4 separate regions of the Homo sapiens genome follow, and all the other regions are linked to region 1. The links are contacts of gene promoters, found by promoter capture Hi-C in human tissues and cell types (Jung and others, 2019). All regions are on one chromosome and are shown on one strand. Each heading gives the region's core, a stretch centred on a gene start or on the middle of the fragment in contact. The rest is flanking DNA. Distances are from core to core; before and after follow the strand shown.

What was found. The method cuts DNA at HindIII sites, captures the fragments that hold promoters and counts their contacts. A contact is called where the count stands out against the background at its distance.
Region 2: a contact is called between a fragment that was not itself captured here and the fragment with the promoter of SOWAHB in region 1, in 1 of the 25 tissues and cell types used here (IMR-90 fibroblasts).
Region 3: a contact is called between a fragment that was not itself captured here and the fragment with the promoter of SOWAHB in region 1, in 3 of the 25 tissues and cell types used here (IMR-90 fibroblasts, aorta and dorsolateral prefrontal cortex).
Region 4: a fragment that was not itself captured here is called in contact with the fragment with the promoter of SOWAHB in region 1 in 1 of the 25 tissues and cell types used here (liver).

Annotation. Positions count from the first base shown.
Region 1 is chr4:76,896,691-76,899,879 of GRCh38, reverse strand. SOWAHB (sosondowah ankyrin repeat domain family member B) reads left to right here and starts at 1,736. Exons shown (of 1, transcript NM_001029870.3): 1 at 1,736-3,189. The coding sequence starts at 2,031. RefSeq lists silencers at 1,576-1,645, 1,716-2,015, 2,276-2,385. The HindIII fragment of the contact is 8,540 bases long and covers 1-3,189 here.
Region 2 is chr4:76,692,094-76,695,314 of GRCh38, reverse strand. All of the region lies in intron 2 of SHROOM3 (shroom family member 3), which reads right to left. Among named protein-coding and RNA genes, the nearest start is that of SHROOM3-AS1, 110 kb to the left of the region's middle. The HindIII fragment of the contact is 4,768 bases long and covers 1-3,221 here.
Region 3 is chr4:76,732,290-76,735,327 of GRCh38, reverse strand. All of the region lies in intron 4 of SHROOM3 (shroom family member 3), which reads right to left. The region is part of intron 2 of SHROOM3-AS1 (SHROOM3 antisense RNA 1); the gene reads left to right. Among named protein-coding and RNA genes, the nearest start is that of SHROOM3-AS1, 69 kb to the left of the region's middle. The HindIII fragment of the contact is 4,090 bases long and covers 1-3,038 here.
Region 4 is chr4:76,672,565-76,675,546 of GRCh38, reverse strand. All of the region lies in intron 2 of SHROOM3 (shroom family member 3), which reads right to left. Among named protein-coding and RNA genes, the nearest start is that of MIR548AH, 99 kb to the right of the region's middle. The HindIII fragment of the contact is 5,192 bases long and covers 1-2,982 here.

The sequences.
Region 1 (3,189 bases), core at 487-2,986:
GAGTCTTTCATTTGGTGTTCCTCCTGCCTTAGGTATGGACTCACCTTACTCAGTCCCAACAAGACTCTATACCAGCAAATAAACTCAAAAGAAAGCTGAAATTTAATACAAAACCTTAATTTTAAAAACTATCCTAAAGGCTTGATGTTATGTAGAGACATCAGTGAAAACCACTATCCCTCTCTCAACCCAGTATTGGGTTTGGATCCTAGAAAATGCCAAAAATAGACAAAAATGTTTCCAGTTCTTTTTTTCTGACCTAGATAATGTAAAACCAAAGATTCATTCCTGGAAAAGTGCTAGGGTATTTTTGGGGATTTAAAATCAAGCTCAGTTAATGTGGTCTATAGGGCAGTCACTAAGATTGGTCCATGCTAAAACATGTCTTTGTCAACAATTGTAGGGCCAACACACATACTTTCAATACTCTTTCTTGGCGAGAAGTATAGGAACTATGAGTAATCAGAAATAGAAGAGCAAAAGGAAAAGTGAAAAGATGAGAAGAGTCCATGAGAAAAGAGAGGCAAATTACAGGGAAGGAGAAAATCGAGGTTTTTGAATGGGAAATACAGTGGACATGAGAGGATCTGAGAAACAGACATATTTCCTGTCAGTAGAGGCCGAAGGTAAACAAGGATGTCGTGTAACAGAAAGAAATGGGAAGGCCAAGTTAAAGAAAAGAATGAGAGAAGGCTTGGAACTAAAACAGGTAAAGAGATAATGACAGTGAAAACTATCTCAGGCATGTCAACAGGACTGATAAGGAACAGTGAGGGACATCCAGGATCTCACATCAAAGACAGAAGGGTCAACATGTGGAGAGAGAAAAAGGAAGAGGGATCCCAGCTGTTAGGGGGAAAAGGTGCTGTTAAAGACAGCTCTAGTCTGCATTTTGAACCTTACATTCTGAAAGGAAGCACTTCACCAAGCCAATACAAAACACTGTACAAATCTCTGCTGTTCACAAATTTTAGAGTAAATAAAAGCAAACTAATGCTACACATCAAATACCTTAACTGGCGAGACATAATTCCTAGTTCATTTTAGCCGCCGGGGGCAAGAAGCTATCAAAGTGATTTTTTTTTTCCAGCACCTTAATGTGAGACAAGTATGAAGGAAAGACAAGTATGAAAGAAAAAGTCCCAAACCAATATTGCCCAGTAGTAATTTTCAGAGTGATTTCTCTTTTCAGTATAGACTTGGATGTATTCGGACCCCTTGGAGGGGGCGCCGGAGAAGCGGCCCAGAAAGTATTTCTATATTAAGAAAAATTTAGTTTGGATGCAAAGTGAGTTTTGCGGACCTCAATACAGCCTCGAGAAATCTGAAGTACTCCTCTACAGCGTTAATAAAGAAAGATAACTCAGATTGCCTGTTAACTTGCAGCTTCTCCTCCTCCCCCATCGGCTTCAGCCTGAACTCATCAAAGCACCGGAGGACAGGAACGGACCTTCTATCGCTTTTGTTTCCTGCGTGGCGGAGACTTAGAGGAACGGCCGGTCGCCTACCTGCCTTCCACTTCCCCGGCCGCAGAGCAGTTCGCTGCCGGCTCGGTTCGCCGCCAACCTCACCTACCGGCTGGCTCTCCGGCCTGACTCTTCTGGGATGGGTGGCAGGGGGTGGGGGAGACCTCAGGGGGCGGAGGGACACGAGGAGGCGGGCCTGACCCTTCCCCCAGAGGCAGGGAGGAGGTGCCGCCAGGGCGCAGGTGAAACCGACTCGGCCCTATCCCGGGAACTTTCGCTGTGAGGACTCGTTGCGAGAGGCTAGAGTCGCGCAGGGGCGGCCTCGGAGCCGCCCTCTCTCACGCAGACTGCCGCGGGGACTCAGCCTTGGGGCCACCCGGAGGGGACCCACGGCCCTCCTGGCGCGCTCACGGGCTGCGGGCAGCGCTGGCCTCCGCGGCTGATGGGGGCGGCTAGTGCCGCCCCGGGCGCAGGTGACACTCGCCCGGCCAGGGTTTCCTCTGGCTGGGGAGAGCCCCGGGAGGGCGAGACTCAGACACCTCTGGGGCGGAGGACAAGGCAGCGATGGCCCGAGAGCTGAGCCAGGAGGCACTACTGGACTTTCTGTGCCAGGCTGGGGGCCGCGTGACCAACGCTGCCTTGCTGAGCCACTTCAAGAGCTTTCTCCGAGACCCCGACGCGTCCCCCAGCCAGCACCAGCACCGCCGCGAGCTCTTCAAGGGCTTCGTCAACTCGGTCGCCGCAGTGCGCCAGGACCCCGACGGCACCAAGTACGTGGTGCTCAAGAGGAGATACAGGGACCTTTTGGGGGAGGAGGGGCTGCAGCGACCCCGCGAGCCGCCCGCGGCCGCCCCCAGTGCAGGGGGAGCTGCGCCCTGCTCCCCGCGAGGCGCGCGCCGGGGGGAGCCGCCCCAGCAGCAGCCCAGGCGGCGGCGGCGCGAGAAGGAGCCGGAGGAGGAGCCAGCAGGTGCAGCAGCCAGAGCCGCCGACGCAGCTTGCAATGGACTCCCGGGCAGCGACTCCCGTAGGGCGCCCGGGAAGGGCGGCGGATCGAAGGGCAGTCCCGGACAGAGGCCGCCGGTGCCCGCAGCTGCAGCGGCAGGGGCCCAGGCGAGAGCGAGCTGCGCGGCGGCGAAGACGCAGGGCCGCTGCTGCTGGGAATGCCTCCAGAACAACCTGGCTGTACTGCCGGGAGAGCTCGGCGCACTCCCGCACTCGGCCACCGCGGAGGAGAAGCCGGCACGGGCTCTGCCTGCCCAGGATGACCGCGGGGCTTCCAGGGAGCGGGAAGAAGGCGCGCTAGCTGAGCCGGCGCCTGTGCCTGCAGTGGCTCACTCGCCTCCCGCCACCGTCGAGGCTGCGACAAGCAGGGCTTCCCCGCCTGCTCTCCTGCCCGGCCCCGCTCCCCGCGGAGACCGGCCGGAGCTGCTGACCCCCAGCTCCCTGCATTATTCGACCCTGCAGCAGCAGCAGCAGCGCACTCGAGAGTGGGTGGCCAGGCACCCGCAGGTGCCCGAGGCCCGTGATCAGGGCCCTATCCGCGCCTGGTCGGTGCTGCCAGACAACTTCCTCCAGCTGCCCTTGGAACCCGGCTCCACGGAGCCTAATTCAGAGCCGCCAGACCCCTGTCTTTCCTCGCACTCTCTCTTTCCTGTTGTTCCGGATGAGTCCTGGGAATCCTGGGCGGGGAACCCTTCATTGACTGTCTTTCGCAGCATTCGTT
Region 2 (3,221 bases), core at 619-3,118, 200 kb after region 1:
TGTTCACAAATAAGTCGACTGACTTCCTAATTGGAGTCATTGGGGGTAAGGAGCAACGGACAATGTCAGAGAGGACCACCTCACAGGTGGACTTGTGAGGGGCTGGGAAAAGAAAAGACATGTTCATTAGAGCCTTTCCTACAAGCATCCCACAAACCCCCAAAGGTGGTAGACCCATTAACCATTTAAGAACATATTCAAGGAGTCAACCATCCCCCACCACCAGTATTAATCTGCATGCAGCCATAAGCAGGGCACTAGTTAGTTCCACTTATTGGTATAAAACAATCATATCTAAAAGGGAAAGATAGTTGACATCTATTACAGACCTCATCCATTAATTGACAGGATGGTATTGGGTACTAACCCTGGCACCTCCATGCCCTCAGCAAGTTATTTAACCTATGATTTTGGTTTCCTCACCTTTAAAAGGGGATAGTAACAGTGCCTGCCTCATAGGAGTGTGAGGAAGATAAAATCAGCCAGCACAAAACGTATTAGACAGTGCTTGACTCCTAGTAAGTACTCAATAAATGTTAGGAATTAACACCTATCAGGTGCCAGCCTAGTTATATTTACATGTATTCTGTCACTTAATCCTTATAACAGCCTTAACCTAATAAATATTAATACCTCTCTTAAGGTATCATTATCACCATCTTGCAGATGAGGAAACAGCTGCTTAAAGGACTCTCCAAATTACTAGTGTAGCAGAGCTCAGATTCAAACGTAGGTCATTCTACTTGCACAGTCTCTGACCTTTCCACTGTACTCAATTGCCTTTATATAAGACCATTTTGTTTTTGCTATTTTTAGTAAGGAATAACAAGTGAAGCCTTAATGAGAAATGCCAATGTTTAAGAAAATAACATCAATTAAAAGAACTAGGATTTTAAACCTCCACTGTAAGCAGGAGCTTTTAAAACAAACAACAAAACACAAAAAAAAACAAACAAAAAGACTAGCCTGAGACAGACCTCTCTGCTCTGAGAAAAATTCCAAAAGAAATGTGTACACATTCACACTTGTGGCTGGAGTGTCTATGAACCCTTGAGGGTACAATGTCTTATTATTCATCATTGAATTCCCAGAGGCTAATGCGTTCTCAGTAAATGTTTGACAAATGTTTACTGAATGAATTAAACCAACCCAACAACAAAATGCCTCACTTGGAGTTGGCAAAATATATAACATCTTTCCCAAATGCTTTGTTGAACTTAAATTAAATCACTGAAGCTTAATAGATTAAATAAACTATTATAAATTTACCACTCTGTCCAAAGCATTTTACTGAAAAGCATGACGTTAATTTTGATAGAGAGATCGAGTTTTGTTTTTTTTTTCTACCTACATCTTTGGGAAGAGAATATAGTATGTTAACCTTTCATTTGGATTCCCAGAAGATGTTGTGAGCCTCATCTGGGAGCTCAGCTTCGACAATCATCATTAAATCAGTCCTCAGATCAGTCCTCAGGAAAAAAAAAAAAAAAAAAAGGAGTTTGCCTAGTGCGTAGTTCCTCTCTTTGGAGTTTACTTCTGCTGGCAAAACCAAACCCCAGTAGTATTTTGATCACGTACACAAGAACTTCACATTTTAAATCCCCACAACCTTAAAAAATGACTCATCAAGGGCCAGGTGCAGTGGCTCACACCTGTAATCCCAGCACTTTGGGAGGCTGGGGCAGGCAGATCACGAGGTCAAGAGATTGAGACCATCCTGGCCAACATGGTGAAACCCAGTCTCTACTAAAAATACAAAAATAATTAGCTGGGTATAGTGGCATGTGCCTGTAGTCCCAGCTACTTGGGAGGCTGAGGCAGGAGAATCGCTTGAACCCGGGAGGTGGAGGCTGCAGTGAGCCAAGATTGTGCCACTGCACTCCAGCCTGGGCAACACAGCAAGACTCTGTCTTGTTGCTTTAAAAAAAAAAAAAAAAAAAAAAACAAACTTATCAAAATGAAGGTATGCATAGTAATAATGATAAGGATACCAGTTAATATAAGATCCTTGATAATCTTAAATGATATGGCTTTCACAAAAGTGTAAATACTTTTTCATCAACTCCAAAATCACATATTATATTTATCACAGTGCCTGGAAATAGTAGTTGACATTTACTGAGTTCTTACTAAGCTAAGTACCTTCAGTCATTAACTCAATCTTTGCAACAACCCTATGAAGATGTTCTATTATTGTCCAATGTCTTGCAGCTCAGAGGTATTTATTTAATATCTTGTCCAGGGTAATATATGCCTAGAGGCAGATGTGGGATGTATACTCTTGTGTAACTCTAGAACCTAAGTTTTTCTTCTAATTCAGGTAATGCTTTGCATACAATAAAATGCACAGGTCTTAGGTGTTCAGTTCGATGGGTGTGGATAATTGTGTATACCTATGAAACCATCACGAAAAACAAAACATAAAACATTTCCATCATTCCAGAAAATCCCTTCTTATCTCTTTCTAGTCAGTCCCTACCCACTGGCAACCACTGACTTCTGTCATAGATTAGTTTTGCCTATTCTAGCACTTCATGAATAGAATTGCTTATTATTATTTTGTATCTGGCTGCTTTCAGTTAACGTGCTCTTGAGACTCATCCAGGTTTTTGTATCAAGAGTTCATTCCCATTGATCGCTGAGTCGTATTCATTGTATGGATGTGCCACTGTTTCTTTACCCATTTTCCTGTTGATGGATGTAGGGTTGTTTCCAGGTATTGGTCATTATAAATAAGGTTGCTATGAACATTCTGTACAAGTCATTGGTGGACATTTGTTTTCACCTATCTTGGGTAAATACCTAGGCGTGGAAATGTTGGGTCATAGGTTGGTGTATGTTTAACTTTACAACAAACTTAATTTCTTAACCCCTGTACTCTACACCTTCAGAATGGCACTAGCTTATTAACATGTTTTATTTTGCCTCTTATAAGACGAGTTCCTGAGGGCAGGGAACCCATCGCCAGTTCCTGGGATGCCTCCCACACAGTAAATGATTGCTGAATAAATGAATGACCATTGTTCATGCCCCTATTCCTTCTTTGGGTGTTACAACAGCATAAGAAAACTAGTTTCTGACATGCATGAAGAAATCCCACAAGCTGAAGGCTGTGAAATGGAGGCATTGCTCATTCAGGCAAGGTGAAGACTGCCCAGCCACCAGGCTCTACCTCCCAATCTTCTTTCTGACATGACCTTCCCTAGAAAGTGAACCCCTCT
Region 3 (3,038 bases), core at 378-2,877, 160 kb after region 1:
CTAGGACAAGTTCTTCCACTGCTGTCTGGAAATACTCATTTTTATTACCTTTGCCATTGATGCCACCAAAATGGCACTTTTAATGATGGGTAAGAAAACTTGGAATGAAGGTTTTCAATCCTGCAACAATTCCAACTCACATAAAGCCAGCCTTACTCTCAAGAGGGGTGCATCTTGAGTGGATCAAAGTTCTTACCATGGTCTGGCTACTTCTCCAGCCTCATTTTCTATTGCTCTTCTTCTTGCTCCCTGCACTCCAGCATAATAGTTTCCCTGTTGAAACTCAAACCCAGGAAATTTATTCCCATCTCAGGGTCTCAGAGTCTTTGTACTCACTGCTCCCACCACCCGGAGTGCTCTTCACCTGGCTTACTCCCTCTTACTTCATTCAGAGAGGACCTCCTGGAACTAACTAAAGAGCATCTCTTCTCTCCTTTATGCCTGTTACCCTGCTTTATTTTCTTCACAGCACTTACCACTACTTGACATTATATCATATCCCTTTGGTTATGTGAAAGAGACTTTGACTGTATCTATAATATTTAAAGAACTGAAGTGAACATAAAATGCTTTTTAATTCTGTGGTAGATGTATGTATTTTTATAATATCATTCTATTTTGTGTGTTTAAAATACTTTTAAACACAGGTATCTACCAGGTACGGTGGCTCACGCCTGTAATCCCAGCACTTTGGGAGGCTGAGGCGGGAGGATCGCTTGAGCCCAGAATGTCAATGTTGGAGTTAGCCTTGATCGCATCACTGCACCCCAGCCTGGGCAACACAGTGAGACCCATCTCAAAAAAAAAAAAAAAAGTATTTTTAAAATATTTAAAACATAGAGCACAAAATAAGTGTATGAAAACATTTCCTAAAGTGTGCTCACAGAACACTAATTCCTTAGATGATTAAATATGTTTGGAAAATATTGAGCTAAATAAGCTAAACAATTTTATTTACTGCAAGATTTCTGAGTCTTTTATAAACTATTGTTCTCCCAAACCATTTTTCATGTGTTGTTCTAAAAGAGAAATATATAATTTAACTAAGAGATGTTTTCTAAACTTACTTGATCTCAGAAACTTTTTTTTCTAAGAAGTATCTAGTGGATTGTTATTCCACGGAACACATTTTGGGAAACAAATAATTGTGGTGCAGGGGGCTTTTTATGCCTTGTTCACCACTGTACTCCCAATACCTACAAAGCATCTGAGACATAGTGGATGCTCATACAGATTTGTTGAATGAATGAATCACTGATTTGATACTGCTATTTCAGCCTCTTGTCAGGGGGCTAGACTACATAACTTTTCAGTCTCTTCTAAAGTACTTTAGTACTTTAGAACCACTGGGTGAGATTTCCATAGGGCAGCAAAAACAGAGTGTCAAGGGTCTGACAGAAAGCAGCTGAAATACAATTTCAGTGAAATTCCAAATCCAACCTAGCTCACAGTTAAATTACACATCTTCAGTCTCTCCATACTTCTCTTTCTCTCTCTCTCTCACCTCACTCCTGTCTCTCCCTCATCCTCTCACCCCCTCTTACGCCTGCTTCTTAACAAGAAACAGATCCATAAATTCAGGACTGAGATTGGTTTCTGGAACTTAAACTAAGGCTGTCAGAGAGATACCAGCCAACTGATGTGGCACACTGGACCACTAGATGCCACTGTGCTCCTCAGAAACACACCTGGGGCACCTCTCCACCTGCCGCTGCCAAGATCAGATCCCACAGGTGGAACTCAGCATGGGGGTCAAGCCCTCTGCCAAAGCTGCAAGCCTCAGGCATGGTTTGTTTGTGCTGCACCACAGGGTGGTTTGTGCTGCAGCAGGAGAGAATGCACACGCCTGTAACATTTTGAGTTATTTGAACTTTCCTTTCTCCTTTTGTCCCCATGCAGTGCTTTTGTGCTGATGGTCCTTATGTCAGGAGGAACAATTTTGAAGCTTCAATCAGAGAGACAGAGTGGTAGATACAGCACAAGGGCAGATCCACCTGCCTAAGCCCCTCTGGAGGCTGGGATGCAGAGGAGGAAGGAGGAGGTGCAGAAGCAAAGCCTTGAAAATACTGTACTTCTGGTGCTGACGGCCCCATTCCCCTGAGGCCTACTGGAGCTCACCATAGTTACTGTAAGCAGTCATTCTAAGTACTGATTGCAGTGCTTATCTCTGCTGAAGGGCCAGCACATTTTTTAAGTCACAGTGTGGCTTTGGATTTAGGGCTTCATAAGAAGGTTAGGAGTAAGGATGCTCAAAGGACCCCACTGTTGAAGGGCACTCTGTTAATACATACCCACCTGCATTTATAAGTGTGTGCTGGCCATTCACCCTCAAGTTCAGTACCAGGTTTCATGGTGTCCTGAAGTCTTCAGCTTAATTATTATAATCAGTCATCATTCATTGAGTGCTTACTATGTACTAAGAATTGCACATATGCTATTTTATATAATCCTCACAACAATCCAATGATGTAGGTACTAGTTATTTTACAGAAAAGGAAGCCAAGATCAAAGGTTAAATGATTTGCTCAAGCTTACACCGTAGGGGTAAGGGGAGATTTAAACCTAGGTCTGACTTAAAGGCCCAGTCCCTTACCACTATGCTATTCTTCCTTCATTGTTAGGCTCCACACACCTTACCTTCTAAAGGCCCTCAACACCTCCATGCCTGTAAAGCAAAAGTAGTCTGGCTTTGTCAAGGGTCAGGAGACACTGCTAGGAAACCTGCTCTCTGAGAACAGATGGCTCAGACGGTGAGAATAATTTCTTTCAGGGTGATTGGGAAGGACATGGGCAAGGGAGAGGAGCATCTGTAACCAGGAAGGAACCAGGACATTATCTCTTCCTGTGGCCTGAATCCTACCCTGATATGCTGAGAGAGGTTTGTCCTGTTCAATTCCATGAGCTACTGTTCATCAGTGAGAGGTCTAGGATTTGGCCCTTGACTTGACCAGACATGAGTATTAAGGGCTGTGACTGAGTTCTGGCCTTGCCAAATGCATAGCTACCATCTGTTCATTAAGTAATCCTTCCAGAAGCTT
Region 4 (2,982 bases), core at 441-2,940, 220 kb after region 1:
CAACTAGACAGTAAGATTCTTGAGGGAAGGGACTACATCTTTCTTACTCTTCTGGGTACCTACAGTGTCTAGTACAAGGCATGGTAGATAATAGATCTCCAATAAACATTCCTTTGGAGTTTTCAAACTACTGAGATCACAAAACAAATAATGCTTTGAAAACTGTTTTTAGAAATACCAGTGGTACTTCAATATCATGAATTAATGAGTGAGAACCCTGCTTCTGTCAGTATGGTAGTTGCCAGGTTAAGAATTCTGCTTTTTGTCCCCTTATCCAGCATGAGATCCCTGTTCTTCATAAATGGGTGTGTTTTCACCGGTGCTAATACGCATCTGGACTTTGAGCTTCCCTCCTACTCCCTACACACACCCCACCTTGTTTATCTCTGGTCTATGTTCATATTCATGTCTGAAGGGAACATTGGTCTCTTCCTCATGTGTAGGAATGAATAAATCTGACAGAACCTAAAAGCATACCCAGAGGAAACTGTCTAAGCCCATTATTTATATCCCTCGTTTTCTTATTAACTAACTGCCAGATTTCAGAAAACTGGAGCCAACCCAAGAAGGACCCCTGGCAGCCGGTATGAACCCTAAGACCAGAGACTAGTATGCCACAGTTGCTGAAGAGTGGGGGGAATGGGGAGGATGAGTGGGGAGAAGGTAAGAAATGGCTTCTAGAAACTTGACATGGCCGGGTGTGGTGGCTCACGCCTGTAATCCCAGCACTTTGGGAGGCCGAGGCAGGCGGATCACTTGAGCCCAGAAGTTCAAGACCAGCCTGGGCAACATGGAGAAACCCTGGCTCTACAAAAAATGCAAAAATTAGCTGGGCATGGTGATGTGTGCCTGTAGTCCCAGCTACTTGGGAGGCTGAGGTGGGAGGATCACTTGAGCCTGGGGACGCAGCGTTTGCAGTGAGCTGAGATTGTGGCAGCCTGGGCAATGGAGCAAGACCCTGTGTCAAAACAAAAAAAAAAAAAAAAAAAAAAGGAAGGAAGGAAGGAAAGAAAGAAAGAAAGAGAAAGAGAGAGAAGAAAATAAATTTGACATATGATCTAGGAAAAAAGGATTATTCTGCTTCCTGCTATTAGAGGACAACTCAGCCTCAATCCTCACGTTATGAGGAGTCAGAGAGGTGGCTAAAGATTCAAGGATGTGAATGAGTTCCTGTCTCACCTACCTGAAAATGTGTAGGAGAGAAGAAAAGATAAATAACCTATAGAAATATAGGATCACTGTTCATAGAAAACAGGTATCTCTTATATTAAAAATACTTTAAAATTTTGACTTTTCGACATATGAATTGATGAAAACATTATACAGAATCAGAAAAGTCCATCTTTTTAATTCTAATTTACAAACAACAGTAAGGCTGGGCATGGTGGCTCATGCCTGTAATCCTAGCACTTTGGGAAGTAGAGGTGGGAGGATCGCTTGAGGCCAGGAGTTTCAGACCAGCCTGGTCAACATAGCAAGACCCCTGTCTCTACAAAAGAAAAAAAAAGTAGTTGGGTGTGGTGGCACATACCTGTAATCCTAGCTACTTGGGAGTCTGAGGCAGGAGGATCACTTGACCCCAGGAGTTCAATGTTACAGTGAGCTACGATTGCGCCACTGCAGTCTAGCTTAGGCAACAAAGTGAAACCCTGTCTCAAAATAAACAAATAAATAAATATTTTTAAAACACAACAGTAAAGTGGGGACACGGGGGTTGTTTAATGGATATAGAGTTTCAGTTTTGCAAGATGAAAAAGTTCAGGAGATCTGTTGTACCACAATGTGAATATACTTAATACTACTGAATTGCACGCTTATAAGTGGTGAAGGTGGTAAATTTTATGTTATGTATTTTTCATCACAATTAAAATTTTTTTTAACAAAAACACAGTAAAGAACAAGTATGAAAAAGAAGAAAATAGCCTAATTCATTCTGAAGAGGAAAATACACTATTGCTCAATTTGGCTGCTATTTAAACCCCACCCCACTCCTCCACCCTTGGCTTTTTTCTCTCAGCAAGCTGCCTAGCAGTTACTCTTAAACATCCTTTCTCTTTATGTAGACAAAAAGGACAAAAAACAGAAAAATATAAGACTTTACAGAAACAGAGAGGAGAACTGTGGATCTTCTTCAGAAAAAAAAAATCTTTCTTTCTAAACCATTGGCCAATAAGATTATTTTTAAAATTACCTTGGTATAATATATAATGGCAAAAGAAGCTTTTGAAGACCCAAATAAGACTATATTAAGTCCCTAATCACACAGTGTGATTCCAACTCAAGTCTGATAGAGATTCATAGAGCTAACCGTTGAAGACAGTCATGGCGACAGGCAAAATGAGAAGCTTAAGGAACCCAACTCAATTACTTATTACCTGGGCTACCTACCCACCCTCACCCCATCCCACTTTTTCTTTCTTATCCAGTGGGGAGGCTAAGCTGTTTATATTGACTGATTTAATTAGGGAAGGGACTTTTCAAAAAATCTGGCCTAGTTTTGAGTTTATTTTTGAAATGGGTGTTTCTTGATCAAAGCGACAAACAGCAAATGTTGTTTTGATGTATGCTCCCTTTAGTTTGGAAATTTGTAGGGAAGAGAACTTTTTTAAGGGCAATGAGGCAGAATCCCCTTAATGCAAGTAATATTTTTTCACCAAATTAAAATGCATGTATCCGGCCGGGCATGAGCCACCATACCCTGTAATCCCAGCACTTTGGGAGGCCGAGGCAGGCGGATCACGAGGTCAGGAGATGAGACCATCCTGGCTAACATGGTGAAACCCTGTCTTTACTAAAAATACAAAAAATTAGCCAGGCGTGGTGGCGGGAGCCTGTAGTCCCAACTACTCAGGAGGTTGAGGCAGGAGAATGGTGTGAACCCAGGAGGCGGAGCTAGCAGTGAGCTGAGATCACGCCACTGCACTCTAGCCTGGGTGACAGAGCGAGACTTGGTCTAAAAAACAAAAAAAATGCATGTATCCT